5 separate regions of the Homo sapiens genome follow, and regions 1, 2, 3 and 4 are each linked to region 5. The links are contacts of gene promoters, found by promoter capture Hi-C in human tissues and cell types (Jung and others, 2019). All regions are on one chromosome and are shown on one strand. The core of a region is centred on a gene start or on the middle of the fragment in contact, and the rest is flanking DNA. Distances in the headings are between cores, read along the strand shown.

The links. The method cuts DNA at HindIII sites, captures the fragments that hold promoters and counts their contacts. A contact is called where the count stands out against the background at its distance.
Region 1: a fragment that was not itself captured here is called in contact with the fragment with the promoter of CYP2D6 in region 5 in 2 of the 25 tissues and cell types used here (IMR-90 fibroblasts and spleen).
Region 2: a contact is called between a fragment that was not itself captured here and the fragment with the promoter of CYP2D6 in region 5, in 4 of the 25 tissues and cell types used here (IMR-90 fibroblasts, lymphoblastoid cells, mesendoderm cells and 1 more).
Region 3: a fragment that was not itself captured here is called in contact with the fragment with the promoter of CYP2D6 in region 5 in 1 of the 25 tissues and cell types used here (dorsolateral prefrontal cortex).
Region 4: the fragment with the promoter of RRP7A here is called in contact with the fragment with the promoter of CYP2D6 in region 5 in 2 of the 25 tissues and cell types used here (hippocampus and lymphoblastoid cells).

Annotation. Positions count from the first base shown.
Region 1 is chr22:42,496,971-42,499,670 of GRCh38, forward strand. No RefSeq gene overlaps it. Among named protein-coding and RNA genes, the nearest start is that of RRP7A, 21 kb to the right of the region's middle. RefSeq lists enhancers at 1,709-2,229, 2,315-2,700 and a silencer at 1,813-2,107. The HindIII fragment of the contact is 5,441 bases long and covers 1-2,700 here.
Region 2 is chr22:42,470,850-42,473,549 of GRCh38, forward strand. No RefSeq gene overlaps it. Among named protein-coding and RNA genes, the nearest start is that of NFAM1, 40 kb to the left of the region's middle. The HindIII fragment of the contact is 3,065 bases long and covers 1-2,700 here.
Region 3 is chr22:42,454,033-42,456,732 of GRCh38, forward strand. No RefSeq gene overlaps it. Among named protein-coding and RNA genes, the nearest start is that of NFAM1, 23 kb to the left of the region's middle. The HindIII fragment of the contact is 8,803 bases long and covers 1-2,700 here.
Region 4 is chr22:42,518,546-42,521,245 of GRCh38, forward strand. RRP7A (ribosomal RNA processing 7 homolog A) reads right to left here and starts at 1,251. Exons shown (of 7, transcript NM_015703.5): 1 at 1,169-1,251. The coding sequence starts at 1,241. LOC124900479 (a long non-coding RNA gene) reads left to right here. Exons shown (of 3, transcript XR_007068117.1): 1 at 1-808. RefSeq lists silencers at 1,003-1,132, 1,143-1,312, 1,333-1,392 and enhancers at 1,573-1,632, 2,158-2,452. The HindIII fragment of the contact is 27,172 bases long and covers 1-2,700 here.
Region 5 is chr22:42,129,560-42,132,259 of GRCh38, forward strand. CYP2D6 (cytochrome P450 family 2 subfamily D member 6 (gene/pseudogene)) reads right to left here and starts at 1,251. Exons shown (of 9, transcript NM_000106.6): 1 at 1,053-1,251; 2 at 179-350. The coding sequence starts at 1,232. RefSeq lists promoters at 1,257-1,723, 1,310-2,700 and a cis regulatory region at 2,536-2,547. The HindIII fragment of the contact is 22,528 bases long and covers 1-2,700 here.

The DNA.
Region 1 (2,700 bases), core at 171-2,670, 370 kb after region 5:
GCCGGGCGTGGTGGTGGGCACCTGTAATCCCAGCTACCCGGGAGGCTGAGGCAGAAGAATCGCGTGAAAACCAGAAGGCGGAGGTTGCAGTGGGCCGAGATCCTGCCACTGCACTCTAGCCTGGGCAACAAGAGTGAAACTCTGTCTTAAAAAAAAAAAAAAAAAAAAAAAAGGGCCGGGCGCAGTGGCTTGCGCCTGCAATCCCAGCACTTTAGGAGACCAAGGCGGGCTGATCACCTAAGGTCGGGAGTTCGAGATCAGCCTGGCTAACATGGTGAAACCTCGTCTCTACTAAATATACAAAATTAGCTGGACGTGGTGGCGCATGCCTGTCATTCCAAGCTACTCGGGAGGCTGAGGCAGGAGAATCGCTTGAACCCAGGAGGCAGAGTTTGCAGTGAGCCAGGATTGCACCACTGCCTGGCAACAGTATGAGGCTCCATCTCAAAAAAAAAGAAAAAAATCTGCTAAATTTGTAGTAACTTGTTGCACAGCATAGAAAATTAATATAGTCTCCCTAAATATTATAGTTAGTACTGCCTGCTTTTAAGAGTCTCTTTCAATCTATAGATTCCCCCTGCATCTCTTTATTCTCTCTCAATTTTTTATTGAAAAATTTGGGATGGTTAATTTGTATCGCTTCCCATAGTCTGGATTTTGCTGGTTACATTCCTGTGGTATAGGTTAACAGGTTTCATTTTTTCCTCCTGTAAATTGATCATTGCATCTAGAGTGTTAATCAGATTAAGCTTTTTATGTTTTTGTTAAGACTCTTTCTAAGTACACAGCTACAAGGTGTTTGTGTGTGTGTGTATATGTATATGTGAATTTGTGTATTTTTTTTAAGATAAGATGCCTCATGAAACATACTGATACTTCTGATTCAAATTCAGGAGACAAGATGTTACTCATTCTCTTCTATTTCACATCTGTAACTCCTTTTCCCTACACCAAGAATTCAGTTCTCTGGCCACTGGGGATGATAGAATTTGAATATCACATAATTACTAATTGCTTTGTCCCATGTTCGAAAACATTCTTAGAATAAAAATATAACATTACCAGTCCATATGATCACTAAAAACAGTTCCAAAACATTTTATTTTACTTTAGTATTATTATTACTTTTTTTTTTCTTTGAGACGGAGTCTTGCTCTGTCACCCAGGCTGGAGTGCAATGGTGTGATCTCAGCTCACTGCAACCTCTACCTCCTGGGTTCAAGTGATTCTCCTGCCCCAGCCTCCCAAGTAACTGGGATTACAGGCGCCCACCACCACACCTGGCTAATTTTTGTATTTTAGTAGAGATGAAGTATTGCAGGATCTGGCCAGCAGCCTGCAATGCAACGGGGCTCTCTCTTTGTTCCCAAGCGGATTGGCAGGTTGAGAAATAATAGACACACACAAGATAGTGAAAGCTGGGTCCAGGGGGGTCACTGCCTTCTGGTCCCTCAGTGCCAACAATGCACGGGATATACCAGCATTTATTATTAAGTTTAGTGAGGTCGGGGGTAGGTTAGTGAGGGATTTAGGGTCATTTGATTATGAGGTGAGATGGTCACATGGGGATGAAGCAATTCTTTAACATAACATTTGTATGTAGAAGTACAGTACATTTGTATGTAGAAGTATAGTATACAGAGATAAGAATTTACAACATAGTGTGTGCGTCAGTAATTTCTAACAGAGCCTTAAAACAGAAACACAGTCTTTCCATAACCTATGATTAGCAAGATTTTAATCAGTAGTAAAAACTGCAACAAAAGCTGGTTACAAACAATCCATGGAAACAGGAAGCTAGACAACCGGTTAGACCAGAAATTCTCAGAAGGGAGTATGCCTTAACCCTAAAGAGGCCTAGAAGAGCCACGGCAAGATGAGGGCGTTTATAGCCCTATCTTATCCATATGGACAGGCACCCCCTATGCGTCCATTTATAGGCTCTCCACAAGGGTCGCATTCCATTCCCAGAGCTATGAACATCTGCTTTGCTGGGATACGAATCTTGGTGATGTGAAACTTCCCTGACTGCAAGTCCATTCATAGGCTCTCTGCAGGGGGAAGCACATCACGTGCTATTGGCTCATTCTGGCAGTCCAACCTGGCATTGTCTTTACACAATCCTGCATGCAATTTTGTATTTACAATAATCAGGAGCATTTCATCTTTTATTCCATAGCAATAGTTTCAGGGGGTCTCCCTACAATGAAGTTGCGCCACATCGGCCAGGCTGGTCTCGAACTCCTGACCTCAAGCCACCCACCTGCCTTGGCCTCCCAAAGTGCTGAGACTACAAGCCTGAGCCACCGTCCCTGGCCAAAAAACAAAAAACAAAACACACACACACACACACACACACACACACACACACACTTTAAAGATATGCCCACACCATTTTCTCCCCCTATTTATAGCTGTACTTTGTCTATGTTGTTGGCGAATGTAACCATTACACTCCATCCTCTCCTTTTTACTCCTCATCTTCTCTTGGTTCTCCATGTAAATATATCTTTAATGTTCACACCAGGCTAATGTCAATGTCTTTTTAGTCTCGTTGGTTGTCTGAAGCTTATTTTCTAGTAATTCCTCAGGAAAGGCTTTGGGAACAATATTCTCTGGGTTCCTGCACATTGGTGAGAATCTGCTATTTTTTTTTTCTTTTTAACTCACTCTGTCACCCAGGCTGGAGTGCACTGCCGC
Region 2 (2,700 bases), core at 94-2,593, 340 kb after region 5:
AATGCCCTTCCTCTCCTTTGCAACCTGTGAGGTTTGGCTAAAATGTAACCTCCTTTGGCTGTTACTGCCAAGAGCACAGCCAGTATCCATTCTGCCCCACTTCCTTAAGAATAGAACCACGATTTTGTTCTAATATGGTCCTTTTAAAATGACTACAACTATCGTATTATATTCCCAGCTCCCTCTGTATCTCAGGGTGGCCAAGTGACACAGTTTTGGACAATGAGATACAGGCTGAAGTTTGCTAGGTTTATTAATTATCGATGCATATCAAAGTATCCCAAAACTTAGTGGTTTAAAGCAATGGATGCTTTTATTATCTCACGATTTTTGTGGGTCAAGAATTTGGGAGTGGCTTATCTGGGTGGTTCTGGTTCAAGATCTTAATGAGGTTGCAGTCAAGGTGTCCACTGGGGCTGCAGTCATCCGAAGGCTTGACTAGATCTGGAGGATCTTCTTCCAAGGAGGTTTACTCATGTGGCTGTTGGCAAGAAGTCTCCTGTTGTCTGGATGCAAGTCATGGTACATGTAAGACGCTTTAAGAGTTTTTATTGTTGGCATCAAGGAAAAAAGTATGACCTCTTCCTTTGCCTATCTCCAATCCCTTTTATCCCCATTTTATTTTTGATCTATCCACCCATGTACTCATCCACTACCCATCTACCCACCCATCCATCCACCCACCCATCCATCCATCCACTCACCCATCCAGCCAACAACTCACTCATCCACCCATCCACTCATCCACCAACCTTTCACCCACCTACCCACCTATCCACTTACCCACCCACCCATCCTTTCACCCATCCACCCATCCATCCACCCACACACATATCCATCCATCCATCCATCCATCCATCCACCATCCACCCACCCATCCACACACTCATCCACCTATCCATCTATCCAATAGTTTCTGGGAGCGTATAAAGTGCCAGGCACAATATTTAGGCACTTGACATAAAAAGTGAGTAAGATTTGTGCCCTTCCTTTAAGTAATTCCTCTCTATTTAGGATGACAGATATGGAACAATTCTAGTACATTTGTGATAAGTGCTATGCTACAAGTAAAAGAGGGATACTATCTTTTTTTTTTTTTTCGAGACAGGGTTTCACTCTGTAACCCAGGCGGGAGTGCAGTGGTGCAATCTTGGCTCACTGCAACCTCCATCTCCTGGGTTCAAGCGATTCTCGTGCCTCAGCCTCCCGAGTAGCTGGGATTACAGGTGTGTGCCACCATGCCAGGCTCTTTTTTTTTTTTTTCTTTTTGGTATTTTTAGTAGAGACAGGGTTTCACTATGTTGGCCAGACTGGCCTCGAACTCCTGACCTCAAATGACCTGCCCACCTCAGCCTCCCAAAGTGCTGGGATTACAGGCATGAGCCACCGCACCTGGCCAGATACTATCTTAGATGTATTAATATTTTTTCCTTCTCTTATTCAGTCAGAAGCTTCTGTTGGCCTCAAGGATAATTATGATTTTCATAGTAGGTAGGTGATGAGAAAGAAAGACGCTTTCACTTTTAAGTATTAAGACTGACTCCAAGTGCATGTGATTCGGTAGTCTTGAAACTGAGCTTTCAGAGAAAAAAGAGATTTTCTAAATTCCAAAGGCTCTGCTTTAAGACGTAAATAACAGAATCCTGGACTTGGATTATAAGCAGTGCACAGGGTCTGAAGGTGTGACTTAGGGAAGTTCCCATCAGTAGGAAGACACAGGAGATCAGATGTCAGCGTCCTGATTCCCTCCTCGGGGTTAACACAGTGGTAGCAAGGCCTGCGGTGAGCATGGCAGCAGAACGACAGGGGCTGCTCAGGCATGCTTTGGAAATGGCCAGGAAAGGGTCTAGGACAGTGGCCTGGAAGGCAGCCTCACAGATCTAGTGTGAGGCTACACCCAGCCTACACTCTCTAGTGTGGAGTGGGAAAAGCAGCCCAGGCCCTGATGAATCAAAAGACTGAGATTGGGGTACAGAGGCCAGGCTGGGAGCCCTGGGCTGGAGGTTGAGAATAATGCATGATGGTATCGCCTCGTGGACACCAGGACGGAAGGTCCAGGAACCGCCCTGGCCATGGCTGAGAGGCAGGAGCCAGGAGGGTGCCCTAGTTACCCCGCACCCTAGCAGCATCTCAGAAAGGAGCAGGGAGAGACACTTGATCGGAACTTGAACCTGAACTTGAACTTTAATCTTGACGCGTTAATGAGGAAGGGAGTTTTGGAAGACTGAAGAGGCTGAGTTAGCTCTGATGAGCATGTTCCTGGTGTTATTTCCTTTCTCTCTTTTGCCGTGAGCAAGAGTGGGGACTTGCGAGCTCAAGGGAATCAGTTATAGACCATTTTTAGTTCTATTTCTGTGCACATCTGCCTGCATACAGCATAAAGATTTTTACCCTGGTTGAGGCGTGCACGGGATGCTGGGATTACAGGCGTGAGCCACCGTACCCACCTGACCCTAAATTATTTTTGGTTCCTCCAATCCAACTTTCTTCCATAGAATACTAAGAATGGGAATTGCTCTGTTCCTAAGGCACTATAAGCTGAAACTAAATGAATTTTAAGGGATGAGTCTTGTGTGTGATCTATGGACCATATAGAAAGTTCACTGGACTGCCTCATGCCATGAGCAGAGACAGTCTAACTGTAAACCAGGACAAGCAGTTGATGGCTTCATGCTGTGGGTGGCTTTTCCCAAGACAACA
Region 3 (2,700 bases), core at 192-2,691, 320 kb after region 5:
AAAATTAGCCAGGCATAGTGGCATGCACCTGTAATCCCAGCTACTCTGGAGGCTGAGGCAGGAGAATCTCTTGAACCTAAAATCTAAAAAATAAGACCACGCCAAGGAAAAAAATCAGTAACAGTATAGAGGGGATGGAAGCAGACCTCTTTAATACACCTTGTTCTTCAGTTTTGACTTTGCCATCATGTAAATGCTTTATTTAGTTCTAAATCAAATTTAAATTGAAAAAAAAAAATTCCCAGGCCAGGGCGGCGGCTCATGCCTGCGATCCCAGCACTTTGGGAGGCTGAGGTGGGCAGGTCAACTAAGCCCAAGAATTTGAGACCAGCCTGGGCAATATGACAAAACCCCATCTCTACAAAAAATACAAAATTAGCCAGATGTGGTGGTGCAGGTGCTTGGAGGCTGCTTGGGAGGCTGAGGTGGGAGGATGACCTGGGCCTGAGAGGTGGAGTTTGCAGTGAGTCGAGATTGCACCACTGCACTCCAGCCTGGGTGACAGAGTGAGGCCCTGTCTCAAAAAAGAAAAAAAAAAAAGTATTTCCTAGTTGATTTTTGTTCAACTTCAATTAATCATAATCTACCTTCTTTTTTTTGTTTTTGAGACAAGAGTCTCGCTCTGTTGCCCAGGATGGAGTGCAATGGTGTGAACTGCAACCTCTGTCTCCTGGGTTCAAGCAATTCACCTGCCTCAGCCTCTTGAGTAGTTGGGATTACAGGTGTCCACCACCACACCTGGCTAAATTTTGTACTTTTAGTAGAGATGGAGTTTCACCATGTTGGTCAGGCTGGTCTCAAACTCCTGACCTCATGATCCACCCACTTCGGGCTCCCAAAATGCTGGGATTACAGGCGTGAGCCACCGTGCCCTGCCAATCACAATCTACCTTTAAGTGATAATATGCTACCTTTTTTTTTTTTTTTTTAGACAGTCTCGCTCTGTCCCTCAGGCTGGAGTGCAGTGGCGCAATCTTGGCTCACTGCAAGCTCTGCCTCCCGGGTTCACGCCATTCTCCTGTCTCAGTCTCCCAAGTAGCTGGGACTACAGGTGCCTGCCACCATGCCCGGCTAATTTTTTGTATTTTTAGTAGAGACAGGGTTTCACCGTGTTCGCCAGGATGGTCTCTATCTCCTGACCTTGTGATCCGCCTGCCTCAGCCTCCCAAAGTGCTGGAATTACAGGCATGAGCCACCATGCCCAGCCAATATACTACTTAATATAAAGCATAAGAACATTGGCCAGGTGCGGTGGCTTATGCCTGTAATCCCAGCACTTTGGGAGGCTGAGGAGGGTAGATTGCTTGAGCCCACAAGTTTGAGACCAGTGACACCCCATCTCTACAAAAAAATGTAAAAAATTAGCTGGGTATGGTAGTACATGCCTGTAGTCTCAGCTACTTGGGATCGCTTGAGCCCAGGAAGTCAAGGCTGCAGTGAGCCATGATTGTGCCACTGCACTCCAACCTGGGCAACAGAGCAAGACCCTATCCCCACTCCCCACCCTCCCAAAAAAAAGAACCTAAAAGTAGTGTATTTCTGATTCTCCACATACACACTCCATCTATTTAAGAAACTACAATAAATACAATGAGTTCAGGCTGGATGCGGTGGCTCATGACTGTAATCCCAGCACCTTGGGAGGCAGAGGTTGGTGGATCGCTCCACTGTACTCCAGCCTGGGTGACAGAGCGAGACTCTGTCTCAAAATAAATAAATGAATAATAAAATAAAAAGTAAATGGTCTAGGCCTGGCCAACATGGTGAAACCCTATCTCTACAAAAAATACAATATTTAGCCGGGTGTGGTGGTGTGCACCTGTAGTCCCAGCTACTGCGGAGGCTGAGGCAGGAGGATCACTTGAGCCCAGGAAGTGAAGGCTGCAGTGAGCCACAATTGCGCACCACTACACTCCAGCCTGGGTGACAGAGTGAGACCCTTTCTAAAAAAAAAAAAAAAAGGAAAGAAAAGAAAATGTCCAAATTTAAAGGCAGAGATTGTCAGATTGGATTAAAAAAAGATTCAGTATCCTATTTATAAGAAACACACTTCAAATATAAAGACACAAATAGGTTAAAAGTAGAAGGATGGAAAAAGACATACCTACCATGCTATCACAAATCCAAAAAAAGCTAGCGTGGCTTATCAATATCAGACCAAGTAGATTGTATAGCAGAAGACATTACCAGGGATAAAGAGGTTAATTCAATAATGATTAAGGGGTCAGTTATTCCAGAGGACATAACAATTCTAAACGTTTATGTACCTAATAACAGAGCTTCAAAACACTTGAAGCAAAAACTTATAGAACAGCAAAGAGAAATGGAAAAGTTGACAATCATAGTTGAAGATGTCAATACCCTGCTTTCAATAATTGATAGAATTGATAGAATAGCTGGGTATAGCCGTGTATCACCTGTAGTCCCAGCTACTCAGGAGGCTGTGGCAGGAGAAGCACTTTAGCCCAGGACTTGAGTCTAGTCTGGACAACATAGTGAGATCCCACCTCTGAATAAATACATAGAAATTGATAGAATGAATAGACAGAAAACCAGCAAATATATAGAAGATTTGAACAACATTATCAACCAACTCGATCCAATGGACATTTATAAAACACTTTACCCAACAACAGCAGAATACACATTCCTCTCAAGTTCACACAGAATATTTACCAACATAGACAATATTCTGAGACA
Region 4 (2,700 bases), core at 1-2,500, 390 kb after region 5:
GGTACACCAGGGCCTCACACATGCTGGCCTCTCTACCTGGCGTGTCACCCTCTTCCCTCCCGCTCACCTCAGGTTTAGCTCAAACCTCGCTTCCTCAGGAGAGCCTTAGCATCACCTCCGCCCCTCCTGCCAGCTCAGATCCCACTGCCTGTGCCTTCACAGCTTCTCTTAACAGTCTGGAGGCTATATTGATGAGATTCTTTGGTTAATCGCTGGCACACCCATGACTGTAATCCTCATAAAGCTAGGAACTGCTTCTATTTTTCTCACACCTCCGTCACAGTACCGGTTGGCGTAGAGCTGCGGTCCCTGAACTCAGGAAGCTCAGTTGCAATAACGGAGAAGACAATTAACAAGCATACAGCAAACTTGTATCAATTGTGAAAGAAACATTACAGGGTGATGGGGTGGCAGAGGTCTTCTTTCCATAGGCCATCACGGATGGCCTCTTTGAGGAAGCAACATTAAAGCTCAGGCCAGAACGCCACTGTGCAACAAACCGGCACAGCACGTGCAAAAACCCAGAGGGGGGAAAAAGCATGTTCCCTCAGAGGAACAGAAAGAGCTTTAGGTCGGCACCAGCCAGACCACGTGGCCCACACAGGTTAAGAAGTCTGGTTTTTGTTTTAGAAGCTACCTGATAAAGCCACTGGAGGGAATGCAGTAGGTGTGGCGCCTATCGTGGGCGCGGCAGACATGATCGAATCTAAATGTCCTTAAAAGAACATTCTGGCACGTGGGTGGAGAACAGAAGCAGGGGCAAGAGGAGAAGGAGGGCAACCGAGTAGGAGGGCCTATAACAGCCCAGGTAAGAGCTGATGGGGGATGGACTAGGAGCAGAGGCGATGAGAAGGGGATGGGCTCACCTGGACGAGCGGGTGTGGACGGAAATGGGTTTGTCCTGGGTGAGAGTGTGGACAGAGGCGGGCTCACCCAAGGGAAGCGTGGACCAAGTTGGGCTCGCCCCGGGAGAGTGAGCAGGCAGAAGGGCGCCGCCTGGGTCCTCGGGACCCCGGAGCCTCAAGACCTGCGGAGCCTGGGGCCACGGGCCACCGGGGCTCACACCCAACCGTGCGGCCGCTCCTGGGGACCCCCGGCCGTCGCCAACCCCCAAACACCTCCCGGCGATGCCTGACCGCCCCCGGTCTCGCGTCCCGGAGCCCCTCACCTGCGTAGCCCAGTGGGCTGGGGATACGGTCCTCCGGGTCCCGCGCGGCGCACTTCCTCCTGCGCGCCACCATCTTGCCACCCGGGAGCGCGGGGGCCGCCGGGAGTTGCGGTTCGGCGCCGGCGCGAGCGCGTTTTCGTGGCGCCTGCCCCGCCCCCTCACTCCAAGCCCGCCTCCCCGGCCCCGCCCGCCATGGCCCAACCTTCATCCGCTCAGAGATAAATCAGCGCGCGAAAGTGGGAGCGAATGTCAGAGTTGACCCCGGCCAGTCACGAGTGCGAACTCAGCTTTCCACTCATGCATTCACACGTTGAATAGGCAGTGTGAGAGAAATCCAGGATGGCTGCTAGGTTTTCAGTCTGAGCAACTAAGAGGATGGTGTTGCCATTGACTGAGATGGGAAGACTGCAGGAGAGGGGCCTGCTTGGGGGTGAAAATGGAGTAGATCAGTTCTCTGTGAGCCGTGGTGAGATGCCCATTAGGCCACTCAGGGGACATGTCAGGTGGGCACTTAGATATGAGACTGAACAGACTGAACATCAGAGATGTCAGGCCTGGAGCAATACACACGGGACTGGCCATGGATAGGTTATTGACAGTTACGAGAGGAGCCGGGTGCGGTGATTCATGCCTGTAATCCCAGCAATTTGGGAGGCCGAGGGGGGCGGATCACTTGAGGTCAGGAGTTCCAGACCAGCCTGGCCAACATGGTGAAACCCCGTGTCTACTAGGTACAAAAAGTAGCCGGGCGTGGTAGTGCATGCCTGTAATTCCAGCTACTCGGGAGGCTGAGGCAGGAGAATCGCTTGAACCCAGGAGGCGGAGATTGCAGTTAGCCAAGATCGCCCCACTGCAATCCAGCCTGGGCAACAGAGCGAGACTCTGTCTCAAAAAAAAAAGAAAGAGAAAAAAAAAGAAAGTTATGAGAGGGTGTGATCGCCAAGGGAGCAAGTGTAGATAGGGGAGAAATGAAGTCCAAGGACTCCACTTTTCTGGACTCCAAAGGGCCTCTCAGACTGTGTACCCGCCAGCCCTTGATGTATCTACTATTTCTCTTTTCCCAGTGTACAGTTGCTTCTTGGAAATGCTGTCGGCCCCTTTGGGGAAAGATTAGGAGCCTACTACTGCAAATATTTGTGGTCTGGAGGGGACCCAGCCTCCCTTTCAGTCAGTGACCTCTGGTTCTGAGGCCTAGCTTAGGCCTGGAAACTGGATGAGGGGTTGGGATTTTCCATCAGCAGCTGCCATTACTGTCCTGTTCGCTCGTTTTTTGTTTTTGATCTTTCTTTGCTTAGCGCAGTCAAGCAGTGTTGGGGCTTCCGTGGCCCCTGGGAATACCGTGGTCTACTAGCATTCACCAGAGACTCCTGTGCGCCCAGGATCCCTGGCAGCCACTCTGGCCTTGCTCCTGTTCTGACAGTCACATCAACCGAACCTCTGCTCTCTGGAATCCTATCTCCTGCTGACCTTTCCGAGCCCGGCTCCAGTCCTATTTGCCCTCTTCTACCCTGGCCTCAGAGGACGGCCATGCC
Region 5 (2,700 bases), core at 1-2,500:
GCCCCGCCCTCGTCCCCATGCTCACACCTCCCTAGTGCAGGTGGTTTCTTGGCCCGCTGTCCCCACTCGCTGGCCTGTTTCATGTCCACGACCCCGCGCCCTCTCTGCCCAGCTCGGACTACGGTCATCACCCACCCGGGTCCCACGGAAATCTGTCTCTGTCCCCACCGCTGCTTGCCTTGGGAACGCGGCCCGAAACCCAGGATCTGGGTGATGGGCACAGGCGGGCGGTCGGCGGTGTCCTCGCCGTGGGTCACCAGCGCCTCGCGCACGGCCGCCAGCCCATTGAGCACGACCACCGGCGTCCAGGCCAGCTGCAGGCTGAACACGTCCCCGAAGCGGCGCCGCAACTGCAGAGGGAGGGTCAGGGCCTCTTGTCAAGCCAGGATCACCCCAGACTACAGGTCCTAGTCCTATTTGAACCTTGGACGACCCCCGGGGCTACCAGGAGTGAGCAGGTGGAAGGAGGAGACCCAGCCTCCTGATCGTGGGGCGGGGGTGGGGGTCACACCTTCTGTGATGGAGGAACTCAGTTTGGATGCGTCACCCAGGTATGACCTTGCAAGAGTCACCAAAATTGCCGAGAGGCCCCAGTTAGCATCCCATTCCCAGATGATGGTCCATGCCGGTGAGCAGTGAGGCCCGAGGACCCACAGTGCAAAAGGTTTGAACCGGGTCACTGCACCCCCTTCATCCTCGATTTCGTGATTTAAACGGCACTCAGGACTAACTCATCTTCCATTCCCAAGGCCTTTCCTTCTGGTGTCAGCAGAAGGGACTTTGTACTCCATAACATATGTTGCCCAATGGGCTTGCATGCCCACTGCCAAGTCCAGCTCCACCTCCAGGCCCTTGCCCTACTCTTCCTTGGCCTTTGGAAAATCCAGTCCTTCATGCCATGTATAAATGCCCTTCTCCAGGACGTCCCCCAAACCTGCTTCCCCTTCTCAGCCTGGCTTCTGGTCCAGCCTGTGGTTTCACCCACCATCCATGTTTGCTTCTGGTAGGGGAGCCTCAGCACCTCTGCCGCCCTCCAGGACCTCCTCCCTCACCTGGTCGAAGCAGTATGGTGTGTTCTGGAAGTCCACATGCAGCAGGTTGCCCAGCCCGGGCAGTGGCAGGGGGCCTGGTGGGTAGCGTGCAGCCCAGCGTTGGCGCCGGTGCATCAGGTCCACCAGGAGCAGGAAGATGGCCACTATCACGGCCAGGGGCACCAGTGCTTCTAGCCCCATACCTGCCTCACTACCAAATGGGCTCCTCTGGACACACCTGGCACCCCCACCCCACCAGGCACAGAGGACCAGGCAGGACACTCTCAGCACACCGAGCGCGTGACCCTTCCCTTATAAAGGGAGCTGATGATGGCCTTTGCCCTCTGCTGTGAGTGAACCTGCTGTGTTGACTGTGCTGCCAGTGGCAGAGTCAGGCCAGGGCGGGTATGGGCTGCTCCAGAGGTTCTTGCCCCTGCTTCCTGCTCCAGGCCCTTACCCAGGGTAGGCCGGTGGAGGGGCCTGGTCGGAGAAGTCACCCCCTCTCCCCACTCCAAGCTCCTGAAGCCTGCAAAGCCTTCTGGGATAACCAGGGTTTCAGTGGACCCGGCCATCCACCTCCCAGCTAGGCTCATACACCCTAATGTAGTCACAACCCCTCCTCCAGAACATGGCCTTGCCCTTTCCCTACCCCCACCTGCCCACTCCAGAGTGACCTTCAGCACCCTTATCTGTCACTGGCACTTACCTGGGGCCTTAGAGCTCCTGATGATGAGTGGCATCATGGGCCTGGTCCCTTCACTTCACCTTGCACTCTTGACATGCACAGACGCTATGCACACACCTGATGGTGCACAGATCTCTTGTCCACTCCCAGACACTTGTCCACTTGTTCACACTTGCAGGGACACGATTACACACGCAGAAAATCACCCACACAAAGACAATATTCACACATACACAGACTCACACTGACACTTAGGGCACACATTCTCTCTCACACACACCAGTCACACACACATACAGACCCGGCACCAAGTACCCCACTTCCCAGCCATGCCGGAGGTTTCCTGGATGGGACCACTCCTGTCCAGAGGCTGCTCCCAGCCCAGCCCACATTCCTGGGCTCTGGCCGGGCTATGGCTTCTTGTTTGCAACAGGGCTGTTCCCAGAGCTCCCAGTTGGTAGCCGGAAGGCCCTTGCCCCAGCCTGTGACAACATCCTCCCGGGCTGCCTGAGGGTCGTCCTCCTCCACTGCTTTCTGGCCTCCATGTTTCTGATTAGAAATCTGGTGGGAACGTTATGGAGGATCCTTTGTTCAGGATATGTTGCTTTATTTTTTTTTTCTTTAGACAGGGTCTCACTCTGTTGCCCAGGCCGGAGTGCAGTGGCAGGATCATGGCTCACTGCAGTCTCGACATCAAGTGGACCCCCTGCCTCCCAAGTAGCTGGGACTACAGGCACCACCCAGCCTAATTCTTTTTTTTTTTTTTTTTTTTTTGGAGACGGAGATTTCCTCTTGTTGCCCAGGCTGGTGGCTCCCCTCCATTGTGCAATGATGCAATCTCGGCTCACTACAACCTTCACCTCTAGGCTTCAAGCAATTCTCCTGCCTCAGCCTCCTAAGTAGCTGGGATTACAGGTGTGTGCCACCACGTCTAGCTTTTTGTATTTTCAGTAGAGATAGGGTTTCACCATGTTGGCCAGGCTA